Linked DNA regions of Homo sapiens: regions 2, 3, 4, 5, 6 and 7 are each linked to region 1. Evidence: promoter capture Hi-C in 16 types of primary human blood cells and fetal thymus (Javierre and others, 2016). All regions are on one chromosome and are shown on one strand. Each heading gives the region's core, a stretch centred on a gene start or on the middle of the fragment in contact. The rest is flanking DNA. Distances are from core to core; before and after follow the strand shown.

Evidence for each region. The method cuts DNA at HindIII sites, captures the fragments that hold promoters and counts their contacts. A CHiCAGO score of 5 or more calls a contact.
Region 2: a fragment that was not itself captured here is called in contact with the fragment with the promoter of ZNF227 in region 1 in 2 of 17 cell types (total CD4 T cells and naive CD8 T cells); the score reaches 14.9 in total CD4 T cells.
Region 3: a contact is called between a fragment that was not itself captured here and the fragment with the promoter of ZNF227 in region 1, in 1 of 17 cell types (total CD4 T cells). The highest score is 12.0, in total CD4 T cells.
Region 4: a contact is called between a fragment that was not itself captured here and the fragment with the promoter of ZNF227 in region 1, in 2 of 17 cell types (non-activated CD4 T cells and activated CD4 T cells). The highest score is 7.3, in non-activated CD4 T cells.
Region 5: a contact is called between a fragment that was not itself captured here and the fragment with the promoter of ZNF227 in region 1, in 1 of 17 cell types (non-activated CD4 T cells). The highest score is 7.7, in non-activated CD4 T cells.
Region 6: a contact is called between a fragment that was not itself captured here and the fragment with the promoter of ZNF227 in region 1, in 1 of 17 cell types (total CD4 T cells). The highest score is 7.7, in total CD4 T cells.
Region 7: a contact is called between a fragment that was not itself captured here and the fragment with the promoter of ZNF227 in region 1, in 1 of 17 cell types (activated CD4 T cells). The highest score is 6.8, in activated CD4 T cells.

What each region holds. Positions count from the first base shown.
Region 1 is chr19:44,210,267-44,214,138 of GRCh38, forward strand. ZNF227 (zinc finger protein 227) reads left to right here and starts at 2,266. Exons shown (of 6, transcript NM_182490.3): 1 at 2,266-2,319; 2 at 2,824-2,978. The HindIII fragment of the contact is 5,683 bases long and covers 1,342-3,872 here.
Region 2 is chr19:58,184,391-58,188,262 of GRCh38, forward strand. ZNF274 (zinc finger protein 274) reads left to right here. Exons shown (of 8, transcript NM_133502.3): 3 at 1,322-1,448; 4 at 2,557-2,652. Among named protein-coding and RNA genes, the nearest start is that of ZNF274, 3.3 kb to the left of the region's middle. The HindIII fragment of the contact is 1,171 bases long and covers 1,145-2,315 here.
Region 3 is chr19:58,101,791-58,105,662 of GRCh38, forward strand. It overlaps a transcript of ZSCAN18 not described here. Among named protein-coding and RNA genes, the nearest start is that of ZSCAN18, 5.5 kb to the left of the region's middle. The HindIII fragment of the contact is 167 bases long and covers 1,991-2,157 here.
Region 4 is chr19:57,677,279-57,681,150 of GRCh38, forward strand. ZSCAN4 (zinc finger and SCAN domain containing 4) reads left to right here. Exons shown (of 5, transcript NM_152677.4): 4 at 636-801; 5 at 888-1,874. The coding sequence ends at 1,627. Among named protein-coding and RNA genes, the nearest start is that of ZNF551, 2.8 kb to the right of the region's middle. The HindIII fragment of the contact is 774 bases long and covers 1,618-2,391 here.
Region 5 is chr19:57,586,170-57,590,041 of GRCh38, forward strand. ZIK1 (zinc finger protein interacting with K protein 1) reads left to right here. Exons shown (of 4, transcript NM_001010879.4): 3 at 2,370-2,496; 4 at 3,842-3,872. Among named protein-coding and RNA genes, the nearest start is that of ZIK1, 4.0 kb to the left of the region's middle. The HindIII fragment of the contact is 5,417 bases long and covers 1-3,872 here.
Region 6 is chr19:57,565,924-57,569,795 of GRCh38, forward strand. No RefSeq gene overlaps it. Among named protein-coding and RNA genes, the nearest start is that of ZNF550, 8.0 kb to the left of the region's middle. The HindIII fragment of the contact is 4,639 bases long and covers 1-3,872 here.
Region 7 is chr19:57,293,638-57,297,509 of GRCh38, forward strand. It overlaps ZNF460 (zinc finger protein 460), which reads left to right. Exons shown (of 3, transcript NM_006635.4): 3 at 1-432. Among named protein-coding and RNA genes, the nearest start is that of ZNF460, 15 kb to the left of the region's middle. The HindIII fragment of the contact is 1,148 bases long and covers 1,233-2,380 here.

The sequences.
Region 1 (3,872 bases), core at 1,016-3,515:
ATAATTTATGTGTCCTGTGTTTATCCCCTGAGGTTAACATTTGCTAACTTTTTATAGGGTAGTCATGAATCAGGCAGAATTTCCAGTGTTTTACATGTATTTATTCATTTGTACTTGATATCAACCCTATTATAGTCTCCATTTTACAAATGAAGAAAAAGGGGACAGAAGAAATGGAAGCACTAGTATTTTAATCTAGATAGCTTTATACTAAGGCTGTAATATTAGCTACTACACACTACTTTTATTAGTCTACAAGGCAAGAACCCACAGTAAGTCTTATTAGAGCAGGGAATATTTAAGCTATGGATGAAGACCGTCACCCAGGAGGGAAAAGAGTAGCAGGTTATGACAGAAGGAACACCAAATACAAAGAATTAGAGGCTTTTTGTAGGAGTACAAGTAATCCACTATGGCTGGACATGTAGAGTGGAAAGTGGATTCCAAGAGAGAAACAGCATCTGGAAAATTCCTGTTTGTGCGACTTGTTAAAGCATTTGAACCTTCTCTTAAGGGCACTGGATAGACATGCAGGTGAAAATAATCAAATTTCCATCTTAGGAGATATACTTAACCTCTCTCTGCCTCTGGATCCCAAAGAGTAAACTAGAGGACATTATTTGTTTTAAAAAAGTTGTGAAAATGGGCTAAGTGTGGTGGCTCATGCCTGTAATCCTAGCACTTTGGGAGGCCGGGGCGGGTGGATCACCTGAGGTCAGGAATTCAAGACTAGCCTGGCCAAGATGGCAAAACCCCGTCTCTACTAAAAATACAAAAATTAGCTGGGCGTGGTGGGGAGGGGGGTGCCTATAACCCCAGCGACTTGGGAGGCTGAGGCAGGAGACTTGCTTGAACCTTGTGTGAGGGCGGAGGTTGCAATGAGCCGAGGTCATGCCACTTCACTCCAGCCTGGGCAAAAGAGCCAAACTCTGTCTAACAACAACAACAACAACAACAACAACAAAACAGAACAAAAAAAAAAAGAAAAAAGTTGTGAAAATGTAGTGAGGGTCCCATAGTCTGAATAGTTTGAACTAGTTCCTGGCACATACTTGGTTCTTTATAAGAGATAGTTGTATATAACAGAATAAAGAATATATATTTAGTAAATGAGAACTGCAAACATGTACTGTAGTAGATATGTGGATATTTTTAGGTATTGCTCTCTTCTTTCAACCCTCAATTCTTGGAAACATCAATTCCATTATACATTTAAGCAAATAAAGATCAAGGTTTAAACACTGAAGTAATAAATTTGTTCATCTTTCAAATTCAGAAACTCCTTGAGGAATGATTACAGAGGCCCTAGTTGCTTTGTGGAGTTGATCTACCATATGCCAAAGCTTGTGTTTTCTATGTCTAGCTATCCTCAGTAAGCAAGTTGTTCTGAATTATATGACTGTGCTATTAAGAAAAGTGGAAATCCATAATATATTCTGCCTTCGTTGCATTTTTTGATTGCTCTTTCATTCTTTTAGTATCTAAAGAGTAGTTTTTCTATTAGTCGATCCTGTTAAATGTAAAAACTTAAAGGGTTTCCTCTGCCCTTTTTTTTTTTTTTTTTGGAAGTGGTGGGTATAATTCTATTAGTACAGGATCACGTGATCTGTTTCTTATAATAGTTTTTTTTTTCTTTTTTTTTTTTTTGAGACAGAGTCTCACTCTGTCGCCCAGGCTGGAGTGCAGTGGCACGATCTTGGCTCACTGCACCCTCCAGGGTTCAAGCGATTCTTATGCCTCAGCCTCCCAAGTAGCTGGGACTACAGGCGCGCGCCACCACGCCCGGCTAATTTTTATATTTTTAGTAGAGACGGGGCTTCATCATATTGGCCAAGCTGGTCTGGAACTCCTGACCTCGTGATCCGCCCGCCTCGGCCTCCCAAAGTGCTGGGAGTCTTTTTTTATTTTAGGGCTCCAATTCTTCACATATTTGCTGTTACTTTTTGTTAATAAGAAAAACCTAAATTCCACTGACATCAGAGAACTGCTTCAGCCTGGCTAAACAGCAATAAGCCGTGAAGAGGATTCTGGATGTTGTAGTCCGGGAGCTCCGAGAATTTTGTCACACTCTCCGTAACCCTCTCTCACTCGCTCGCTCCGTTTTTTTTTTTGTTTTTTTTTTTTTCAAGCGCGAAGAGGGCGGCACCTGGATGGTTTTTCCTTCTGGAAGTTCTGGGAAACGTATTCCAGAACTCTGTCCGGAAACAATTGGGCCGCAGGAGCGCGGGCCTTCTGGGAAGGGTAGTTCAGGAGCTCTGGGCAGGCAGAGCCACTTCCGCCCCGGAAAGCGAGGCCGCCACCATCTTTTGGGTCCGGGAGGTGAGTCAGCCCTGCACCCCCACGACCCCTCTTGAACCTTTTCAGCCTGTGCTTGGGAATAGGCGCTCCCCAGCCATCAGTCTTGGGATGGAGAGGTCGCGGCCGCGGCGGAGGCCGAGAGGCCGAGGGCGGGAAGTTTGCTCTCCTCCCGCACTTGGCAAGCAGCGCCGCTAGTTCTGTGGGTATAATAAACAGCGAGTTACCTATGATCCGCGCTCCTGTTTCCTCATCTTTAAAATAGCAATAAAGATAGTCGTTACTGTGTAGGGTTGTAATTAGAATTAAACAAGATAATACGGGTCAAACCTTAGAACAGTGGTGGCACCTGATACTGGGTTGGCTCCTGCTATTGATACAGTGATTCCCTCACAAGCGCCCTTTTTACTGGAAGCTCCAGTGAAGAGAGAAGAAAAGTCAGGGCTTTATGCCATGGCCTTTCTGTCGTATCCTTCAGGAGACCGAGCTCTTCCCGAACTTTTACAGATCTTTTTTTTTTTTAAGAAGGATTGAGTCATCGGGCTCCAATGCGTGGGGATGTTTACCGCCGTTTATCCGGGATAGAGACTCCATCGTGCTGACAGCATCCTTTTATTCACCGCCTCCGAATTTGCAAAGAGGAGGAAGGAGGGACTTCTTGGCTTCTCCCAGCATAGCCCCAGGTACCTGCTCTTGAACGCACTTTGTTGTTCCATTTTCTGTCCTTTCAGTTAATCAAGTTTCCGTCACTCAGTAAGTTACTACTGAAAAATGATGAAATATTTGTTGAATAAATGTGAGAGTGGGTAGGAAAACTACTTGGAAATGAGTATTACCAATAACATCTTACCACTTTGATTTTAAGGCATTCGTCTGTGGACCATAGCTATTGATGAAGTAGGTCTTGTTATTTTGTTATGAGGAAATTAGGCAGAGTTTATGTTATTAAATACTTTCCCGAAGTTATTCAACTGATAGTAAGAGGTGGATTTGGGATTGAACCCAAGCATTCCTTTTCAGACTGTGTGATCTTTTTTGTTTGTTTTTGTTTCTTTGGTTTTTGTTGTTGTTTATTTTCTATTCCTTTTTCTGAGTCTGTGGTCTTAATCTCAATGATACAGTCGTCTTCAGTTATCTTAAATAGTAATCCATATGGCTACCGGTGAGTCGTTGGAAATCAGCCTTGGGAATGTAGGTATGGATTTTACTGTGGAAGACCTCAAAAACTGCACTGATGAATTTTGAATTTTTTAGAAAAATCCTGCAACATCTCACTTACTTAATTTCATTCCATGTCAAAATATGTCATATTCTAGTTATAGAAGTAATGAATGCTCATTATAGAGATGCACTATCCAATCCAGTAGCTATAAGCCATGTGTGCCCTAGGAGCACTTGAAATGTGTCTAGTCCAAATTGAGATGTGCTGTAAGTGTTAAATACACACTGGATTTCAAAAACTTTGTACAAAAAATGTAAGATGGCTCATTGATAATTTTTTGTATTATATGTCAAAATGGTAATATTTTGGATACATTGGCTTAAATTATGTTGTTGAAATTAACTTCACCTATTTT
Region 2 (3,872 bases), core at 480-2,979, about 14 Mb after region 1:
GTGATTCTCCTGCCTCAGCCTCCCCGAGTAGCTGGGACTACAGGCGTGTGCCACCATACCCAGCTAATTTTTTTTTTATTTTTATTTTTTGTGTGTGTTTTTTGTGGAGACGGGGTTTCACCATGTTGGCCAGGCTGGTCTGGAACTCTTGACCTAAGGTGATCCGACCATCTCGGCCTCCCAAAGGTCTATGCAGGGATCAGGCTTATGTTTAGATTTCAGCAGATAAATTGGCATCAAGCAAGAGGTGACAGCAGCAGAGTTCAATAACAAGTAGAAAAGACAGGTGAGGATGGATCCCTGACAGGTGAAGGAGATAGAAAGAAGCATCAGGGCCCTGGGTAGGGGCTGACGGCTTGGGTGTGATGGTGCAGCTCAGAGAATTCCCTAGGAGGCATACGCACCACTCCCAAAGTCAGAATTTTCAAATGAATAAGAAATAGGGGGCCGGGCGCGGTGGCTCACGTCTGTAATCCCAGCACTTTGGGAGGCCGAGGCAGGTGGATCACGAGGTCAGGAGATTGAGACCATCCTGGCTAACATAGTGAAACCCCGTCTCTACTTAAAAAAATACAAAAAATTAGCCGGGCGTGGTGGCGGGCGCCTGTAGTCCCAGCTACTCGGGAGGCTGAGGCAGGAGAATGGCGTGAACCGGGGAGGCGGAGCTTGCAGTGAGCCGAGATGGCGCCACTGCACTCCAGCCTGGGCGACAGAGAGAGACTCCGTCTCAAAAAAAAAAGAAAAGAAAAATAGGGCCGGGTGCGGTGGCTCACATGTGTAATCCCAGCACTTTGGGAGGCCGAGGCAGGCAGATCACAAGGTCAGGAGTTCGAGACCAGCTTGACCAACATGGTGAAACCCCATCTCTACTAAAAATACAAAAATTAGCCGGGCATGGTGGTATGCGCCTGTAATCCCAGCTACTCAGGAGGCTGAGGCAGGAGAATCGCTTGAACCTGGGAGGTGGAGGCTGCAGTGAGCCAAGATTGCGCCACTGCACTCCACTAGGAGACAGAGTGAGACTCTGTCTCAAAACAATAAATAAATAAATTAAATAAATAAATAAATAAATAAAATGGACAGATTTTCATATGCTACAGAGATCTCATGTGTTGCTCTCCTTATTGTAACCTGAATAGAGTCAAGCTTGGGTTTGCTTGGGGTTTCAGACAAAGACAGGAACTCAGGATGAGACTCCCAAAATGCCCTTGGGTCATCTTGTAGACCATTCTGTGCTTTCACTGGCCTGGTCAGCCTCCCCTGTCTTTCTTTTGTCGTGGATGCGGATGGCCTGTGGCTGAACAAGAATCTGGATTTTTAGGAACCAGTGACCTTTGAAGATGTAACACTGGGTTTTACCCCGGAAGAGTGGGGACTGCTGGACCTCAAACAGAAGTCCCTGTACAGGGAAGTGATGCTGGAGAACTACAGGAACCTGGTCTCAGTGGGTAAGGCTGGCCTCCAGGTCAAGAAGGATCTGTGCTTTGTAGCACAAATGTAGCACCTCTGAAGTATGTGTCTGCTTGGGCTCACACTGCAGGGGCACCAGTAGGAAAAGGGCAGCTTTTCAGTATGACTTCTGAATCATTGCCTAGTCCATCCCTCCCTGAATACCAGGGAGATGGGTCTGTCAGGGATGTTTTCAGCTGCAGTAGTGGATGCTTATTGTTCTTGCAACAAGAGTTCCGGCCAGGCATGGTGGCTCACTTTAGGAGACTGAAGCAGGAGGATTGCTTGAGCCCAGGAGTTTGAGACCAGCATGGGCAACATAGACCGTGTCTCTATTAAAAAAAAAAAAAAAAAGAAACTCCACAGAAATTCCAGACAATGCGATGCCAGTGTCCCAACAGCTTAGGAGTAGCATCAAAGAGCCTGTCCCTGCCAGGCACGGTAGCTTACGCCTGTAATCCTGGCACTTTGGGAGGCTGAGGCAGGCAGATCAGTTGAGGTCAGGAGTTCTAGACCAACCTGACCAACATGATGAAACCCTGTCTTTACTAAAAATACAAAAATTAGCCGAGCACCCCAGCTACTCAGGAGGCTGAGCCAGGAGAACTGCTTGAACATGGGAGGTGGAGGAGATTGCAGTGAGCTGAGATCAGATCACAGCACTCCAGCTTGGGCAACTGAGCAAGACTCCGTCTCAAAAAAAAAAAAAAAAAGCCTGTCCCTTCAAACTCTGGTTATTGTGAACCTTTCCATGTTCCCCCTAGTCATTGCACAGCTGTGGCTCCAAGCATTGCATCTGTGTTCAAGGCAGAAACAAGGAGAAGGGGTAGCCCTTTCACAGCTGTCATGTTTAACCAGAAAGCAAAAGCTTTCCCAGCTGACCGATCTCCCTTTGTGTCTGGCTGACCAGAACTGGACCCCTTAGCTGCTTGGCAAAGGAGTCTAGGAAAGCCAACAACAGGGATGGATGGAGTTGTGTTCACTGCTCTAGGCCAGAAGTCATGTGCCTTAGCAGGGGAGAAGCTGGAGACGGCTTGTGCTGCAGTAGGATAGCATTTTCTCCTGAACACAGACCCCCACAAGCCCTGTCTCTTTTCCTTTGAGCAGAACATCAGCTTTCCAAACCAGATGTGGTATCTCAGTTAGAGGAGGCAGAAGATTTCTGGCCAGTGGAGAGAGGAATTCCTCAAGACACCATTCCAGGTGAGAACCAGACATGGGAAGCCCCCACAGGGAAGGGGCCAACTGATGAGTCAGGGACCAGTATCTTGGAAAAGCAGTAGACATTGGGATACCCCAGGTGGGATGCTGTGATGAGCAGTTGCAGAACCAAACTCGAAGTTTTTCTCTGGCTCCACAGTCAGCAGTGTCCTACTTGGTTGAAAGTGAACCTGTTGCTGGTGGCAGGTGATACTTGTGTTGACAGTAGGGGCTCCCTTAGTCTGTTACACGCATTGTCTACTGCCCTCCCCTCATAATCACTGGTAACCCTGGTGTGTATTTCCAGCCAGACTTTCTTATATAGGCTTACGTGAATGTATGTGAATATATATACACATTTTGGGGGTGTTATAATACAGACAAGTCAGCTTCTTTTTGTTTTGGAGACAGGGTCTCTGTCACCGAGGCTGGAGTGCAGTGGCATGATCTCAGCTCACTGCACCCTCCGCGTCCTGGACTCAAGCTGTCCTCCGACCTCAGCCTTCCAGGTAGCTGGATCTATAGGCATGTACCACCATGCCCGTTTAATTGTTTTTTTGTAGAGACAGTGTTTCACCATGTTGCCCAGGCTGGTCTTGAACTCCTGAGCTCAAGTGATCCATCCACCTCAGCCTCCCAGAGTGCTGGGATTCCAGGCATGAGCCACCGTGTCTGTCTGGTCTGCTTTATTTTATTTATTTTTTGAGATGGAATCTCACTCTGTTGCTCAGGCTGGAGTGCAGTGGTGTGATCTCAGCTCCCTGCAACCTCCGCCTCCTGGGTTCAAGTGATTTTCCAGCCTCAGCCTCTGCAGTAGCTGGGATTACAGGTGTGCACCATGACTCCAGGCTAGTTTTTGTATTTTTAGTAACGGACGGTTTCACCATGTTGGCCATGCTGTTCTTGAACTCCTGACTTCAAGTGATTCACCCACCTTGGCCTCACAAAGTGCTGGGATTACAGGCATGAGCCATTGTGCCCGACCTCTGCTTTATTCTTAACAGCTTCAGTGTGGTCCACATTTGATTTTTCTTCTTTTGGTGGACATTAAATTTACTGCAGAAAACTTCCTTGCATACTTTTTTTTTGCACGAACAAGTTGGTTTTTCTGTAGGTTGGATTTCTAAATATGGAACTACAAGATCAGCCAATGTTGTAAACTAAAAATCTGGTAGTGACAAATTGCCATCTCAAATCCTTTAAGGCCAGGCACAGTGGCTCAC
Region 3 (3,872 bases), core at 824-3,323, about 14 Mb after region 1:
ATTACAGGTGTGAGCCACCGCACCCAGCCTTTTTTTTTTCTTTGTTTTTTGAGACAGAATCTCACTCCTAACCATGCTGCTAATATTTACATGGTCCTGCACCAGTGTGTTCATGTAATTTCACATAACTTTTTTCTTTAATTAGGGTTGAGTTTCCTATATAGGCCTTCTAAGCAGCCAGAGATCACACACTTAAATGAGCACCTATTAGCTTCCAGGCATATTATGTTTTCTTTTATAAATAAAAGCCTCAAAATGCACACATGCATACACACACACACGATTACTGACCAAAAGGTATTTCAGTATAAAAGCTAGAGTAGAAGCTCCATAAGGACGGTGACTTTTCCCTGTTTAGGCAGCTTACTAAAAAACCCCATATACTCAGCCGGGCGCAGTGGTTCACGCCTGTAATCCCAGCAATTTGGGAGGCCGAGGTGGGCTGCTCACGAGGTCAGGAGATTGAGACCATCCTGGCTAACACGGTGAAACCCTGTCTCTACCAAGAAAATACAAAAAAATTAGCCGGGCATGGTGGCGGGCGCCTGTAGTCCCAGCTACTAGGGAGGCTGAGGCAGGAGAATGGTGTGAACCCGGGAGGCAGAGCTTGCAGAGAGCCAAGATCACGCAACTGCACTCCAGCCTGGGCGACAGAGCAAGACTCCATCTCAAAACAAACAAACAAACAAACAAACAAACAAACCATATACTCTTCTGTGCTGTTTGGCTTCCCCCCACATTATGAACTTTAAAAATCTTGCAATAAAATAACAATTATGGCTGACACAGGCTATAAGAAAGAAGGCAGGTAACAATGATTATTCAGCAAGGTAGGAAGGACTACAATGGCACACAGACTTGCCATTTTGTACTGCATCGGATATGTCAATGTTAATTGTCATCTCAGCAACAAGATTTTTTCCTTGAGAGTTGTATTTCTCCTCAAATGGACTCTCACTAGTCATTCAATTCCTCCTTCTGATATTACTCTTATTTCATTGATTCCAAGATAACAGATGGTAACATGTACATTTTATGTGCTAATAAAAGGCTGCCTGAGGCCTAGCACAGTGCCTCACACCTGTAATCTCAGCACTTTGGGAGGCCGAGGTGGGTGGACCACCTGAGGTCAGGAGTTCAAGACCAGCCTGGCAAAACCTCGTCTCTACTACAATACAGAAATTAGCTGGGTGTGGTGGTGTGCACCTCTAATCTCAGCTACTTGGGAGGCCGAGGCAGCAGAATCGCTTGAACCTGGCAGGTGGAGGCTACAGTGAGCCAAGATAGCACCACTGTACTCCAGCCTGGGTGACACAGCGAGACTCTCTCTAAAAAAAAATAAAAAAATAAAAAAAGGCTGCCAATTAAACCATATCACTGATTAACCTGGTTTGTTTTCAGATGTTAAAATATGGCAAGATATGTATCACAGAATAAAGGAAATACGGTAAGTCTTTAGGTTCTGTGTCACGACTAACTTCCAGATATAGGCATTACCTTGTTTTCTTGCACTTTGCTTAATTATCCTATGCAGATATTGCATTTTTTACAAGTTGAAGGTTTGTGGCAACCTGTGTCAATTAAGTCTATTGTCACCATTTATCAAACAGCATATGCTCTCTGTGTCTCTGTGTCACATTTTGGTAATTCTCACAATACTTCAAACTATTGCATTATTATTATCTGTTATGGTGATCTGTGATCAGTAATTTTTGTTGTAACTATTGTAATTGTTCTGGAGTGAAAGGAACCACGCCTATATAAGACAATGAACTCAGCAGATAAATGTTGTGTGTCCTGATTCCTCCACCAACCTGCCATTGCTCGCTGGTACGCACTCTCTCTCAATCTCTTTCCTCAGGCCTCCCTATTCCCTGAGACAAAACAATATTGAACTTAGGCCAGTTAATAACCCTACAATGGCCACTAAGTGTTCAAGTGAAAGGCAGAGTCAGACCTCTAACTTCAAATCAAAAGCTAGAAATGATTAAGCTTAGTAAGGAAGGCGTGTCAAAGACAGGCCAAAACTTAGCCCTCTTGTGCCAAACAGCCAAATTGTGATGGCCAAGAGAAAAACTTGAGGGAAATGAAAAGTGTGACTCCAGTGAATATGTGAATGACAAGAAACTGAAACAGCCTTGTCGCCAATAGGGAGAAAGCTTTAATGGTCTGGATAGGAGATCAAACTACCCAAAGAGAACTAACATTCTCTTAAGCCAAAGCCTAATCCAGAGCAAGGTCCTGACTCTCTTCATTTCTATGAAGGCTGTGAGAGGCGAGGAAGATGCAGAAGAAAATTCTGAGCCGGCCAGGCACAGTGGCTCATGCCTGTAATCCCAACACTTTGGGAGGCCAAGCGGGATGGATCACCTGAGGTCAGCAGTTCAAGACCAGCTTAGCCAACATGGTGAAACCCCACCTCTACTAAAAATACAAAAATTAGCTGGGCATGGTGGCGTGCGCCTGTAGTCCCAGCTACTCAGGAGTCTGAGGCAGGAGAATTGCTTGAACCTGGGAGGCGAAGGTTGCAGTGAGCTGAGATCGTGCCACTGCACTCCAGCCTGGGCAACAGAGTGAGGCTGTCTCAAAAACAAAACAAAACAAAACAAAACAAAAAAAAAGTCTGGGCCGGGTGTGGTGGCTCATGCCTGTAATACCAGCACTTTGGGAGGCAGAGATGGGCAGATCACCTGAGGTCAGGAGTTTGAGAACAGCTTGGTCAACGTGGCGAAACCCCATCTCTGCTAAAAATACAAAAAAAATTAGCCAGGCATGGTGGCAAGTGCCTGTAATCCCTGCTACTCAAGAGGCTGAGGCATGAGAATTGCTTGAACCCAGGTGGCAGAGGTTGGCAGTGAGCCGAGATCATGCCACTGCACACTAGCCTAGGCAAAAGAGTGAGACTCCATCTCAATAAAATAAAATAAAATAAAATAAAATAAAATAAAATAAAATAAAAAAGTCTGAAGCTAGCAGAGGTTGGTTCATGAAGTTTAAGTCATCTCCGTAACATAAAAGTGCAAGGTGAAGCAGCAAGTGCTAATGCAGAAGCTGCAGCAAGTTCTCCAGATTTAGCTAAGATCACTGAGGAAGGTCGCTACAGTAGACAACAGTTTAAATGTAAAGAAAACAGCCTTCTGTTGGAAGAAATGCCAGGTAGTGTTTTCACAACTAGAAAGAAGTCAGTGCCTAGCTTCAAAGCTTTAAAGAACAGGCCGACTCTTGTTAAGGGCTAATGCAACTGGTGACTTTAAGTTGAAACCAAAGCTCATTTACCATTCTGAAAACCCTAGGGCCTTAAGATTTAAGTTAAATCTACTCTGAGTGCTGTCTATAAATGTAAACAAAGCCTGGATGACAGTACGTGTTTACAGTATGGTGTACTGAATATTTTAAACCCACTGTTGAGAGACTTCCTCCTGAGAAAAAAAGATTCAAATTATGGCTGCTCACTGACAAGAGCTCTGATGAAGACATAGAAGGAAATTAATGTTGTTCTCGCAACTGCCAACACAACGTGTATTCTGCAGCCCATGGACCAAGGAGTAATAATTTTGCCTTTCCAGTCTTCTTATTTAAGAATGCAGTTTAGCTGGCCCAGGCGCAGTGGCCTGTAATCCCAGCACTTTGGGAGGCTGAGACAGGTGGATCACGAGGTCAGGAGATCGAGACCATCCTGGCTAACACAGTGAAACCCAGTCTCTACTAAAAATACAAAAAATTAGCCGGGCGTGGTGGCGGGTGCCTGTAGTCCCAGCTACTCGGGAGGCTGAGGCAGGAGAATGGCATGAACCCGGAAGGCAGAGCTTGCAGTGAGCAGAGATCGCACCACTGCACTCCAGCCTGGGCAACAGAGTGAGACTCCGTCTCAA
Region 4 (3,872 bases), core at 755-3,254, about 13 Mb after region 1:
AGATATGTGCAGGTGGTAAAATATTTGATTTACCTTAGGTGCATGTTTCCAGGTGAGGTTGAACAAGGCCACAACCTCACTTCCTATTTTGGTTCCTACAGTGTAAATAAGTGTCCTTTTCACAGTCTATTTAGTGGCACATTTTTTTTTTTGCTTTTTATTGATAACTTTGTTGTTTAAAGTGACACTGAAGTAAAATGCTGAAACACTGTCTAGTCTTCCTAAGTGCAGGAAAGTTGCTATGTATTATGGAGATAATACATGTGTTGGATCCTCTGAGTTCAGGATTAATCAATAATATATATTAAATGGGGTGTCTTTGAACATATACACACATAAAACAAACTCATGTATTGATCAGTTGACAAAAATAATGTAGCCAGAAGCTCACAGGAAACTAACCCTGAATTTTTCCTAGGGGAAATGATTCAGTACTTGTAAATTCAATGTCCATGTGACTTTATTAAACATAAGAGCTTGTAGTAACAAGAATAACACCATCAGAGATGGTGGACAAAATATGTGATAGCCAATACTTGAGGGAGCTTGTGAGAGCCTGTTAAGGACCACTTTTCCAAAAAGTCTTCTGTTACACAACAGATTCAGATACAACAGTGATCTGGCTTTCTTTACAGGTCCACGTCCACATGCAGGGACAGGAAGCTCTCTTTTCTGAGGATATGCCCTTAAGAGATGTCATTGTTCATCTCACAAAACAAGTGAATGCCCAAACCACAAGAGAAGCAAACATGGGGACACCCTCCCAGACTTCCCAAGATACTTCCTTAGAAACAGGACAAGGTAAGTCAGGTGAATCTGCACAACTGAGGAGTGTTCTATGTGGACCCCTTCTTAAGTACAACTTCATTGAGTGTCTATTTTCACAGGATATGAAGATGAACAAGATGGCTGGAACAGTTCTTCGAAAACTACTCGAGTAAATGAAAATATTACTAATCAAGGCAATCAAATAGTTTCCCTAATCATCATCCAGGAAGAGAACGGTCCTAGGCCTGAAGAGGGAGGTGTTTCTTCTGACAACCCATACAACTCAAAAAGAGCAGAGCTAGTCACTGCTAGATCTCAGGAAGGGTCCATAAATGGAATCACTTTCCAAGGTGTCCCTATGGTGATGGGAGCAGGGTGTATCTCTCAACCAGAGCAGTCCTCCCCTGAGTCTGCCCTTACCCACCAGAGCAATGAGGGAAATTCCACATGTGAGGTACATCAGAAAGGATCCCATGGAGTCCAAAAATCATACAAATGTGAAGAATGCCCCAAGGTCTTTAAGTATCTCTGTCACTTATTAGCTCACCAGAGAAGACACAGGAATGAGAGGCCATTTGTTTGTCCCGAGTGTCAAAAAGGCTTCTTCCAGATATCAGACCTACGGGTGCATCAGATAATTCACACAGGAAAGAAGCCTTTCACATGCAGCATGTGTAAAAAGTCCTTCAGCCACAAAACCAACCTGCGGTCTCATGAGAGAATCCACACAGGAGAAAAGCCTTATACATGTCCCTTTTGTAAGACAAGCTACCGCCAGTCATCCACATACCACCGCCATATGAGGACTCATGAGAAAATTACCCTGCCAAGTGTTCCCTCCACACCAGAAGCTTCCTAAGCTGCTGGTCTGATAATGTGTATAAATATGTATGCAAGTATGTATATTCCTATAGTATTTATCTACTTAGGATATAAGATATAATCTCCTGATTATGCTTTCAATTTATTGTCTTGCTTCATTAAAATGTAAGGCTAAGGAGAGCATGGAATTTGTCAGTTTTGTTCACTAAAGTATTCCAAGTGGTTGGGAAAGTGGAACATTTCCAAGAACCAATAAATTTCTGTTGAATAAATGAATGAATCCATAATGTTGATATCCTTTTTTAAAAAAAGAGATGGGGCCGGCCGCAGTGGTTCGGCCTCCCAAAGTGCTGGGATTACAAGCGTGAGTGACCGTGCCCGGCTTTTTTTTTTTTTTCTGAGTCAGAGTCTTGATCTGTCGCTCAGACTGGAGTGCCGTGGTGTGATCTTGGCTCACTGCAACCTCCACTTGGAGGTCCAAAATTAATCATAGACACCAAACCACAGATCCAGAAATCTCAGAGAAGAGGAAGCAGTGTAAATACCAAAAACCTACAACTAGGTACATCATATTCAAACTACAGAAGGCCAAAGATAGAGAAATTCTTGAAAGAAGATGGAGGTGGGAGAGGGCACTTTACCTGCTGAGGAACAAGGATGAGATTTAGAGTAGAATTCTTGTCAGAAACCAGATAATCAAGAAGGGAATGGAGTGAAAGTTCAAAATTTAGTACAAAAAATAAAACCCCACCCTAACATCTATATCCAGCAATGTTATCTTTCAAAGGTGGAGGAGAATAAAGCTTTTCTCACACAAATACTAAAGAATTCATCCCCAAAGGTCCTGTTACAGGGTCCCTGCATTACATGTGAAGCAATCCAGTAGTTATTTGAAGGTCGAATTAGATTAAAGATGTTTAGGCTGGGCACAGTGTCTCATGCCTGTAATCCCAGCACTTTGTCAGGCTGAGGCGGGCAGATCACTTGAGTCCAGGAGTTTGAGACCAGCCTGAGCACCAAGGCAAAACCTCATCTGTACAAAAAATACAAAAAAACAATTAGCTAGGTTTGGCGACATGCGCCTGTAATCCCAGCTATTTGGGAGGCTGAGATGAGAGGATCACTTGAACCTGGGAGGCAGAGGTTGCAGTGAGCTGAGAACAGACCACCGCACTCCAGCCTGGGTGACAGGCTCAAAAAAATTTTAAAAAGATGTTTATTGTAACTTCTAAGGGAGGAATTAATATTTTTTTTTTTTTTTGCTGGCAACTTTGATTAATTTAAACATACAAAAATTAGCTGGGCATGGTGGTGTATGCTTGTAACCCCAGCTACTCAGGAGGCTGAGGCAGGAGAATCGCTTGAACCCGGGAGGCAGAGGTTGCAGTGAGCTGAGATCGCGCCACTGCACTCCACCCTGGGAGACAGAGCAAGACACTGTCTCAAGAACAAAAACAAAAAAGCCCAGGCGCAGTGGCTCACCTGAGGTCAGGAGTTCAAGACCAGCCTGGCCAACATGGTAAAACCCTCGCTCTACTGAAAATACAGAAATTAGCCGGGCATGGTGCTGGCGCCTGTAGTGCCAGCCACTTGGGAGGCTGAGGCAGAAGAATTGCTTGAACCTGGGAGGTGGAACTTGTGGTGAGCCAAGATCAAGCCATTGCACTCTAGCCTGGGCAACAGAGTGAGACTCCGTCTGGGAAAAAAAAAAAAAAAAAGAACTGATAAACAAATTCACCTGTGTAGCTGAATTCAAAGTCAACATGCAAAAGTCAACATGTAAAACTCATATGCCCTTCCATACACTAACAATGAAAAATCTGAAAAGGAAATTAAGAAAACAATATCATTTGCAATAGTAATGTATATGGTCAAATGATCTCAACAAGGCTACCAAGACCACTCAATGGGGAAACGATGATCTTTTCAGCAAATGATGCTGGGAAAATGAAATATTCACATGCTAAGGAATGAAGGTGAACCCTTACCTAACACCAAAAACACAAATGAACTCAAAATGGACTAAAAACCTAAACATAAGACCCAAAACTATAAAACACTTAAAAGAAAATATAGGGTGAAAGTTTTATGACATTGAATTTGGCCATAATTTCTTGGATTTGACACCAAATACACATGTGACAAAAGAAAAATAGACCAATTAGACTTCATGAAAATTAAAACTTTAGTATATCAAACAATAACAAAGTGAAAGAGGAACCTATTTAATGAGAACAAAATACAGGTTGAATATCCCTGAGCCAAAAATCTAAAATCCAAAA
Region 5 (3,872 bases), core at 393-2,892, about 13 Mb after region 1:
TGGAGAAATCCAAAAGGTGGTGGCCAGTGTTTGGCCCAGAGTAGCTATGGGTCACAATTAGGAGTGGGTAATCCTGGTCTTGAAGATAATGCTATTTATAATGCAGGAAAGGGCTGGGTGTGGTGGCTCACACCTGTAATCCCAGCACTTTGGGCGGCCGAGGCAGGCGGATCACTTGAGGTCAGGAGTTCTAGACCAGCTTGGCCAACATGGTGAAACTCCGTCTCCACTAAAAATACAAAAATTAGCCAGGCGTGGTGGCAGGCACCTGTAATCCCAGCTACTAGGGAGGCTGAGGCAGGAGAATTGCTTGAGCCCAGGAGGCGGAGGTTGCAGTGAGCCAAGATCACGCCACTGCACTCCAGCCTGGGTGACAGAGTGAGACTCCATCTCAAAAACAAAACAAAAAAACAGAAAAGGGAAGGTTGGGGCTATGACTGTGTCTCATGCTTGGACACGTGGTAGAGGTGGTGAGCATCACAAACAGTTGTGAGAGAAAAGTGGTCATGGGAAGATTGTAGGAAAGAGGATGATCTGGTGTATCAGTCCATTTTCACACTGCTGATAAAGACAGCAAGTCTCTAGGAAGTTCCAGACTTTCCCATATTTTCCTGTCTTCTTCTGAGCCCTCCAAACTGTTCCAACCTCTGCCTGTTCCCCAATTCCAAAATTGCTTCCACATTTTCAGTTATCTTTACAGCACAGCCCCACTTTACTCATACTGATTTACTGTATTAGTCCATTTTCATGCTGCTGATAAAGATGTGCTGGAGACTAGATAATTTGTAAGGAAAAAGAGGTTTAATGGACTCATGATTCCGCGTGGCTGGGGAGGCCTCACAATCATGGTGGAGGGTGAAAGGCATGTCTTGCATGGCAGCAGACAAGAGAGAACTTGTTCAGGGGAACTCCCCCCTTATAAAACCATCAAATCTTGTGAGACTTATTTACTATCATGAGAACAGCATGGGAAAGGCCTGCCCCTATGGTTCGATTACCTCTCACCAGGTCCCTCCCATGACATGGGAATTGTGGGAACTACAATTCAAGAAGAGATTTGGGTGGGGACGCAGCCAAATCATATCATCTGATAAGTGGTCAAGGCTTCCAAGGCATTAGGGACATAAGACAGACATGGAGATAAAGAAATAATTGGTAGAAGATGACACTGAGGCCAGGTACAGTGGACTGTGTCCCCGCAAAATTCATATGCTTAAAGCCTAATTCCAGTGTGATGGTATTTGGAGGTTGGGCCTTTGGGAGATAATTAGGTCATGAGGGTGGAGCCCTAATGAATGGGATTAGTGAGTGCTCTTAAACAAAGAGGCCAGAGAGCTACTATCTAGTGCTCTTTCCAACAAGTGAGGATACAAGAAGTCAGCAGTCTGCAACCTGGAAAGAGTCCCTACCAGAACCTGACCATGCTGGCACTCTGATCTCAGGCTTCCTGCCTGCAGATCTGTGAGAAATAAATTTCTGTTGTTGATAAGCCACCCAGTTTGTGGTATTATGCTAGCAGGCCAAACTGACTAAAACACTAGGACTAGTGCTTATTCACCATGGTAAAAACTCGCCAGGAATTTGTTGTGACCCTTGGTGAGTCTGGGGAGGGTGTGAGTCAAGCAGTTGAATAAGTTTAGGAGTACAAGTGTTCATCTGTATGAGTCATTAGGTTGGAGGTAGAGAGCCACTGAGAGTCTGTGCCACTGAGGCCACTGATTTTGAATGAGGGTTAAGAGGTGAGAAGAAGGTTGTTGATTGAAGAGGGGACATCAAGTGCAGCACAAGTGGAGGACGGCCATCGGTGTCTGACATCAGGTGATTCTTGGTGGCTGAGGTTGAAGCAAGGAACAGAGTCAGGAAGATAGCCCTTCAGAGCAGGGTGGGGGCTGTCTATGACAGTAGGAACCATCAGAGGTCTGTGTAGCACTGGATGATGTCTCAATTTGGCAGGCAGAGGGGTGGAGGTAGCCGTGGGAGTGAGACTGAGCGAGTATGGTTCAAAGAATGATGTGTACATGGAGAGGGAGTGTGAACTGAAGGACCCAGGCCCCTGGCATTGAGGACTTAAGGGTCAAAGGTGAAGCCACATTTGATTGTGTCTAGGAGGCACTATCTGAAAGACCCTTGGGGAACTGCCTGACAAGAAGGGATACACTCCTACATACCGGGCCCAAAGTTTAGATGTGGTGCATCCTGCCCACCTCCTGGTTGGTGCTGTAGAAGGATACAGTGATCATTGGGACCATGAAAAGAGAGTGGGCATCTGTGTCACCAGGGCCTGTATTTCCTTAAGGTGGGGATGATTGCGTGGGTGGATGAACTTGTGGAGGCGTTGATTGTGGAGTGACCTGTCCCCATCATGACAGGGCTGTGTGACCTTTGAGGACATCGCCATTTACTTCTCACAGGACGAGTGGGGACTTCTTGATGAGGCTCAGAGACTCCTGTACCTTGAAGTGATGCTGGAGAACTTTGCCCTTGTAGCCTCACTGGGTAAGGCCCTAATACCAACTCCAGTGTCCTGGTCTGTCTATGGTCTTTTGCTGACTTCTCCACTTTCTTGGGATATGTGCTATGGGATCCAGCACTGTGCACTGCCTGAGTAGCCCTAACACCTGCTGCCCAGTGGTCTGGGAACACCTGCTGCCCAGTGGTCTGGGAACACCTGCCACTGGGCAGCAGGTGTTCTTCAGTCAGCCAAATGGATCTCTGTTCCTTGCTCTCTTCTTGGCTGGGTGTCTGTGTTCAGATCCATGACACCTTGTGTCCCAAGTTCCCTGCACCCCCATCTGCTAGCTGACATTTTCTTGTGGCTACCTGTGTCATGATTGTAGTCATTGTCATTGTCTATACTTATGGGGACAATGGGCTCTTCTTACTCACTCCTTCTAGTTTGTTTGTTTGTTTGTTTGTTTAATGATATTAACTTTCTTGCCCATGGGCTGTTGTGTGCTGAGTCGTTCTGCATCAGTGCTGATCACTCACATGTTCTGTCTTTCTGGTAGGACTTGGCTTCATGAAGGTCCCACATAGCTAGACAACTGAGGGTGTGCAGAGAAACCTGGTTGCTTTATAGGGTGAACATGGTCTCAGAGAAGGCCTGGGCTTGTTGAGTGGCAACTGGTTGGGGGCATGATATCCGGGCTGTTTTCCGATCACATAAGGAGCCTGTCCTGTCTTCACCACTGTTTGGGTGCACATGCCACTGGCCAAATCTCATTTCTATATTTTCTTCTCAGTACTTGACACTTCTCTCTCTTATTATTTTTATCTATGACTTCTAGCACCTGGCTACCTCCACCTTTCTGATCTTCATGCATCATCTGCTTCTCTGCACTGCTCCCTCTGCAATGTTTTCCAACATTGACACACACATAATGTCTCATGAAGTATGTATATATGACCACATGAAGATATGTGATCATATCACTTGCTACTCAGTTTCAATTGTATTTTCCTGGGCTTGGGCACAGTCAACCTTCTGCACAGCATGCAGGTGTCACCAGCAGACAAGGTCCTCCTGAAGACTATGTGGTGAGTTTTAGGAATTGGAAGGCTACTCAAGGATAATTTTTGAGGCTGTTGGTAGAGGAATGGTTTGAAGGCAATGCCATTCCCTGTCCTTCATCCCATCCTTGTGTCCTTTATTTGGTGAGGCCTCCCTCATTCTGTGATCTTTAGAGATCCAGTATTGCAAAGCAACCCCTTCCTCAACTTGCCCCCAGCTCCATTATCCTCAAAACAAACCTGGTGAATCATTCGTTTGGTATGTGTGTAATGGGGCTTCTTGCTCTCAGCATAGTCAATGTATATTTCATCAGCGGTTCTCTGCTTTCAGGTTGTGGCCATGGAACAGAGGATGAAGAGAC
Region 6 (3,872 bases), core at 964-3,463, about 13 Mb after region 1:
CCATTGGGCATTTCCTGCAGGGTCAACAGTGAAGTTGAGTTTTCTTGTGTGGCACAGCTGGAGGAGCTGATGCTTGGCTATTGGAGGCCCCAGATAAGGGATGGGGAGGTAGAGCATCCAGAAGTTGCATTTGAGGGGGTTTTCTGACTTTGCGGTGTTGTCCACTGTGGGCTTGTCTGATATGACTCTTAAGAGGGCAGAGTCAATTTTGCAGTGCTTACAAAGAGCTGGGCTGTTTCACAGGGCAAAGAAGGCTTGCACATAGGGGACCTCAGACCGTTTGCCCTCCCACGTGCAGAAAAGATCTAGTTATTGGATATTATTGAAATTAACACTTCCCTCAGCAGCCCAGGCCTATCCATCCTGGAGCTGGTAAGATGGCTATGTCCTCGTACAGAAGAATATAAGCCATTTTTCTTCAGTCTCAGGGTTAAAAGTCTCAGTGTCTCAGGATGCACTCAAGAGGAGTGCAGACTGAAGATGGTTTGTTACCTGTTTTAAAAAGAGTAGGAGAAAAGGCGTCCCTTGGTCTTTTTCCTTTTTTTGGTGTGACCCAGGGTGGAGGGAAAGATCGAAAGTGCATCCCACTTCTCTTTCTTCCCATACTCTGGGTCCTGGCCACCATCATAGGTGTCACCCATGGATGCAAGCATGACCTTCACCCGTGGATCTGGAAGAGCTAGTTGGGTGTAATAGTCATGCTTACCTGTATGAGGACCTGACTCTCCACGCTGCTGGTTTCCTAGTCCCAAGTGGCCCATAAGGCTCCCAGGGTACCCTAGTGGTCTGGGAGATATTGTATTTGGGTGAGACCCTTTAATGGAGGGAGTGTTTTAATACTATCTCTGGCTTCCCTTGCTATGGCCCTAGCAAAACATTGAAATCCCAGAGAATGGGACCGATTGACTTCCAAATATGAAATCTTCTTTTTATTTAAATGCCAGTGTAGTTCAATGCAGAACAGGTGACTCAAAAGAACATAAGGATTGAGTGGCTGTTCTCCCGACTGTTAAAGGTACAGCTTTGCTGTTAACAGATGGAGCATGGAGCTTAGTCCCTAACAGAGGCACACAGGAGGGAGAGGAATTGGGGAACTAATGGTTTTGCACAAAGGGCAGATAGGGCTCCTTATGGAGAAAAAATCCTATTTCACTTGGTGGCGCTGTAGGATCTGAAATGTTAAATAAGAACTCTGACTCCAAATTCTTTCCAGGAAGAAGTTAGAAAGAGAGGTTTGGGCTTAATAGGCTGTCCCCATTGTATGCCTTCCAGAAGAAGAAAATTAACTTGTCTCATAATGGAACTGTCTAGATTCATTGGGCAGTCCTGAGCTTTTACATGGAGGAAAAACACAACCCAAATGGAGAGGGAGAAGGGTATTCACTCAGCATGAAATATCCCCTCTATACAGTGCCATGAATGTCTGTCATTAGGGACAAAAAGCTCTCACTAGGTGAAAGTTTAGACAGAAATCCTCTAATTGTTCTAATTAGATCAAACCTCTATAGTAAACAGTTCAAAAATTATAGTGTCAGGGAATCATCTTCATGGTTGCTGGACTTGTCATCAACATCCCCAGGATCTAGAGTTCCATCTTCTGGCCTATCTGGAAAACCTCACAGACATCTACCCAGTACTTCTAACTAACCATAGCAATCCCAAAGTACCAAAACCCCTACTTATTCAGTGGAACTCTCCTTCACTTAATGGATTCCACCTGAATGTCCCCTTCCACACTTGCCATTATACCTGGACTTGAAAAGTTGAGTATATCTCCAGTGCATTAATGATTCTTTTGCACTCACTACTATGTTAATGACACAAAAGCAGACGTTTCCCTGTGATGCTCTGATCTAACTATAGTTACCAAGTTTCCAAGGCAACAGCAAGGTAAATGGTATTTCACTTGTAGGCAAGAAGACCATATATGATGTCTTCTCCCAGACCAGAACACACGGGAAAAAATGACTGCCTAATCTGGGAGGGTGGGAGTACTATTCGCTTCTGGAAAACAAGGTTTGTTTGACCACCCCCATTGGAACAGGGGAAGAATATCTCTATAGACCCAACTTGGCAGCAAAGGATAGACATTACACCCTGTAGGACCTCTATGCTCCAACTGGACTCATTTTTGTTTGTGGCCATGAATGAGAAGTCACATGCTGTAACTACTCCTGGCTCCCCAGGGAGCCATCTGTTCTTTTAGGAGTAGCTTTCCCTTATATATCAAAAACTTGGAACAAAGATAAATGTATGTTGACCACCCTTGCCCCTCCAAGGGTCACAGTCTATAACCCAATAAGGCCCAGGAACACCAGAAGTCAACAAGCAATAGGATTAATTCTGGTGGGAATCAGGGCAGCCATAGGACAAGCAGCACCCTAGGGTGGCTTTGCCTACCACAAGTCAACCCTAAAGAACTTGACTCAAACTCTAGAATCCTTAGCCACCAACACAGGTTAGGCACTACCAGCAATTCAAGAATCTCTAGACTCTTTGGCAAATGCAGTTCTCAATAACACACTGGCATTAGATTATCTACTAGCGGAACAAGGTAAAGTCTGTGCAGTTAATAAAACCTGCTGCACATATATTAGCAACTCTGGATAGGTTAACATTCAAAAGATCTATAAGCAAGTGACCCTGTTATGTATATTTTCTTTGGCTCTTGCTTGTTTAACCTCTTAGTAAAGTTTGTGTTTTCTAGATCAATAGTCCCCAACCTTTTTGGCATCAGGGACCAGTTTCATGGAAGACAATTTTTCTATGGATGGGGTATGTGGGGCTGGGGCTGGGGGCTGGTCTCAGGATGAAACTCTTCCACCTCAGATCATCAGGTACTAGATTTTCATAAGGAGTGTGCAACCCCAGTCCCTTGCATGCACAGTTTATGATAAGGTTAGCACCCCTATGAGAATCTAATGCTGCCACTGATCTGGCAGGAGGTGGAGCTCAGGCAGTAATGCTCACTCACCTGCCACTCACCTCCTACTGTGCAGCCCAGTTCCTAACAGGACATGGACCAGTATCCACAGGAGAGGGGTTGGGGTATCCTGTTCTAGTTCCAGGTAAAGACAATGCTGGCACAAGGCTTCCAACCCATCCTTGTCTACTATTCCAGAGAATGGAAGTGTCCTTCCTTTGGGGACCTTATATGTGGTATCCAGGGATGTTTACTCCTTTAGTGCTAGGCAGGGCCTAGGCCCACAAAATCAGCAGCAAGCAGTCACAGAGCCCCCTTAAGATTAAAGAGGAGTATCTAATCTCTGATGGGAGAGTGAGATAGGAGGCAGGACTCCATACCAGACTGAAGACTGGCTGAAACAGGGAACAGGCACCAAGAGCATATCTACATAATACACACCCACCAGTGCCATGGCAGTTTACCATCACCATGACAACACCCGGAAATTACCATCCCTTTTCTAGAAATTTCCAAATAACCCACCCTTTGCATGTAGTTAAAAGCGGGTATAAATATGATTGCAGAGCTGCCCCCTGAGCTGATACTCGACACACTGCCTATGGGGTTGCCCTGCTCTGTAGGAGCAGCCACAGAGTTGTAACCCTGCTGCCTCAACAAAGCTATTTTCCATCTACCACTAGCTTGCTCTTGAATTCTTTCCTGAGTGAAGCCAAGAACCTTCTTGGACTAAGCCCCAATTTTGGGGCTCACCTGCCCTACAACGCCACCTGATGTCCTACCTCTGTGCTTTCTAAAACCATCTCCCTTACCACTGGAAGAATATAACTTAGGCCTCAGGAAATGAGGATAATTCATGCTGACATAAGGAGCTCTTTAAAAAATAAAAAAGCAGCTGGGCGCAGTGGCTCATGCGTGTAATCCCAGCACTTTGGGAGGCCGAGGCAGC
Region 7 (3,872 bases), core at 557-3,056, about 13 Mb after region 1:
CTTTTCTAGCTATTTGAAAATATAAAATGTATTATTGCCAATTGTACTCATTCTGCAGTGCCACAGAACACTACAACTTATTCAAATGGAATCTTACTTGCTGTAATTTTGTATTTGTTAACCAATCTCTATCTGCCTCTCTGCTGTCCTTCCCAGCCTCTGGTTACCACCATTCTCAACCTTTTATGCTTGCATATGAGTAGAAACATGGAGTATTTCTCTTTCTGTGTCTAGCTTATTTCACTTAATGTCTTTCAAGCTCATTCATGTTGCTGTGAATGACAGGTTTATTTTTCATGGCTGAGTAGTATTCCATTGTGTATATATGCCATGTTTTCTTTCTTCATTCATCTGATAATGGACACTTAGACTGATTTCTTAGCTATTATGAATAGTGCTTCAATAAACATAGGAGTGTAGATCTCTCTTTGACGTATAGATATATTTGTTTTTGCATATATGCCCAGTAGTGGTATAGATCATTACCAGTGGATCATATGGTAGTTGTATTTTTAACTTTTGTTTATTTTTCATTTTTTAAAATGGGGTCTTGCTGTGTTATTCAGGCTGGTCTCAGACTCCTGGGCTCAAGCAGTCCTGCACCTCAGCCTCCTGAGTAGCTGGGACTACAGGCACACACCACCGTGCCTGGCTATAGTTTTAGATTTTTGAGGAACATTCATACTGTTTTCCATATGGCTATACTAATTAGCATTCCTACCAGCCATATATAAGAGTTCCCCCTTTTCCATGTTCTCAGCAGCATTTTTTATTTTTTATCTTTGGTAATAGCCATCCTAACTGAGGTGAAATTATATCTCATTGTGGTTTTGATTTGCATTTCCCTGATTAGTGATGTTGAGCATTTTTTCATATACTTGGCCATTTGTATGTCTCCTTTTGAGGGATGTCTATTCACCTTATTTACCCATTTTAAAATCAGATTTTTTATTTTTATTTTTTTTGCTATTGAGTTCCTTTTATATTCTGGATATTAATCCCTTTCAGATGAATAGTTTGCAAATATTTTATCCCACTCTACTAGTTGTCTCTTCATTCTGTTGTTTCCTTTGCTGTGCAGAAGTTTTTTAGTTTAATATAATCCCTTTGTTTATTTGTGCTTTTGTTACCTTGATTTTCAGGTATTCATAAAATCCTTGCCCAGACCAATATCCAGAAGCATTTCCCCTATGTTTTCTTCTGTAGTTTCATAGTTTTTGCTCTTACATTTAAGCTTTCAAACCATTTTGAGTTGATTATCCTGAGAGCATAGATTCAAATTGCCCTAAAAATACATTCCCAATTTTTGTTTTTGCTTTTTAATTATTTTTTAGAGACATAGTCTCACCACATTGCCCAGCTTGGTCCTGAACTCCTGGACTCAAGTGAGCCACAACTCAGCCTTCTGAGTAGCTAAGATTACAGGTATGAGCCAGCATACTTGGTGTTTTGAGTTGATTTTTGTGTATGGTGAGAGATGAGTCTACTTTCATTCTTCTGCATATGAATATCCAGTGTCCCAGCACCATTTATTGAAGAGACTGTCCTTTTCCCAGTGAATGTTCTTTGTGCCTTTGTTAGAAATCAGTTGGCTGTAAATGGGATTTATTCCTGGGCTCTCTGTTTTGTTCCATTGGTTTGTGTGGTTTTTAAAAAATACCTGAACCATGCTGTTTTGGTTACCATCACTTTGTAGTATATTTCAAGGTCAGGTAGTGTGATGACTCCCATTTTGTTCTTTTTGCTTAGGATTGCTTTGGATATTCAGTATCTTCTGTGATATCATGAATTTTAGGATTACTATTTCTATTTCTGTGAAAAATGTCATTGGTATTTTGTTAAGAGTGCATTGAATCTGTAGATCACTTGAGGTAGTATGTTCATTTTTTTTCATAAGCTATCTCTTACAGGAAAGTATGTTCATTTTTATAGTAACCATTCTAATCCATGACCATGGGATGTTTTTCCTTTTTTATGTGTGTCCTCTTTGATTTACTTCATCAGTGTTATATAGTTTTCCATGTATTCTTATTTTATTTTTGTTGAAGTATTGTAAATGGGATGGCTTTCTTGATTTCTTTTTCAGCTAATTCATTGTTGGTGTATAGAAATGCTGCTGATTTTTGCATGTTGATTTTATATCCTGCAAGTTCAGTGAATTTATCAGTCCTAAGATTTTTTTGGTGCCACTTTTGGAGTTTAGGGTTTTCTATATATTTGATCCTGTCATGTGCATACAGGGATAATTTGACTTCATGCTTCCTGATCTGCATGCCCTTTATTTCTTTGTCTTGCCTGATTACTCTGTCTCAGACCTTTTGTACTTTGTTAAAAGGTGTGAAAGTGGGCATACTTGTTTTGTTTCAGATTATAGAGAGAAAGCTTTCAGCACTTTCCCATTATGCATGATGTTAGCTGTGGGTATGTTACTTATTACCTTTATTATGTTGAGGTACGTTCTTTCTATTATTATTATAATTTTTTTTAATTTTTTTTTTGAGATGGAGTCTCGCTCTGTCGCCCAGCTGGAGTGCAGTGGCATGATCTCAGCTCACTGCAAGCTCCGCCTTCTGGGTTCACACCATTCTCCTGCCTCAGCCTCCCAAGTAGCTGGAACTACAGGTGCCCACCACCATGCCTGGCTAATTTTTTGTATTTTTAGTAGAGATGGGTTTTCACCATGTTAGCCAGGATGATCTTGATCTCCTGACCTCGTGATCCGCCCGCCTCGGCCTCCCAAAGTGCTGGGATTACAGGTGTAAGCCACCGCGGCCGGCCCATTCTTTCTATTATTATGTGTAATTTGTTAAGAGTTTTCATCATGAGGGGATATTGAATGTTACCAGAGGCTTTTTCTCCACCTATGGAGATAATCACATTTTTTGTTCTTCATTCTGTTGATTTATCATGTTTATTGTTTTGTGTATGTTGAACCCATTCTTGCATCCCTAGAATGAATTCCACTTGGTCATGGTAAACAATCTTTTTGATGTACTTTTGGATTTGGTTGGCTAGTATTTTGTTGAGGAGTTTTGCATTTATGTTCATCAGGAATATTGGCCTGTAGTTTTCTTTTGCATGTGTGTGTCCTTATCTGGTGCTTGTGTCATGGTAATGCTGGCTTGTGGAGTGAGTTTAGAATAATTCCCTCCTCTTCATTATTCTGGGAAAGTTTGAGAAGAATTCATATTTAATTCCCCTAAAATGTTTGGTAGAATTCAGCAGTGAAGCCATGAGATCATGGACTTTCCTTTGATGGGTGACTTTTTATTACTGCTTAAATCTTGTTACTCAGAATTGGTCAATTGAAATTTTCTGTTTCTTCTAGGTTCAATCCTGATGGGTTGTATGTGTCTAGGAATTTATTTTCTGTAGGTTTTCCAACTTTTTGGTTTGTAGTTGTTCATAATAGTCTCTAATGACTCTGTATTTTTGTGGTATCAGTTGCAGTGTCATTTTTGTATGTGTTTGATTTTGAGTCTTTTCTCTTGGTTAGTCTAATGGTTTCTTTTCAAAAAATGAACTTTTCATTTTGTTGATCCTTTGAATTTTTTTTTAAGTCTCAGTTTTATTTATTACTCTTCTGATCTTTATTAATTCTTTCCTTGTAATTTTGGGTCTGATGTGTTCTTTTCTAGTTCCTTGAGAAGCATTGTTAGATTTTTCTTTTTTCTTTTTTTCTTTTTTTAAGAGACAGGGTCTTACTGTGTTACGTAGGCTGGAGTGTAATGGTACAATCAACTCAAACTCCTGGGCTCAAGTGATCCTCACACCTCAGTTTTGAATTCTTGGGCTCAAGCAGTTCTCCCACCTCTGCCTCCAGAATAGCTAGGACTACTGGTATGCGCTATCATGACCAGCTAATCTTTTTT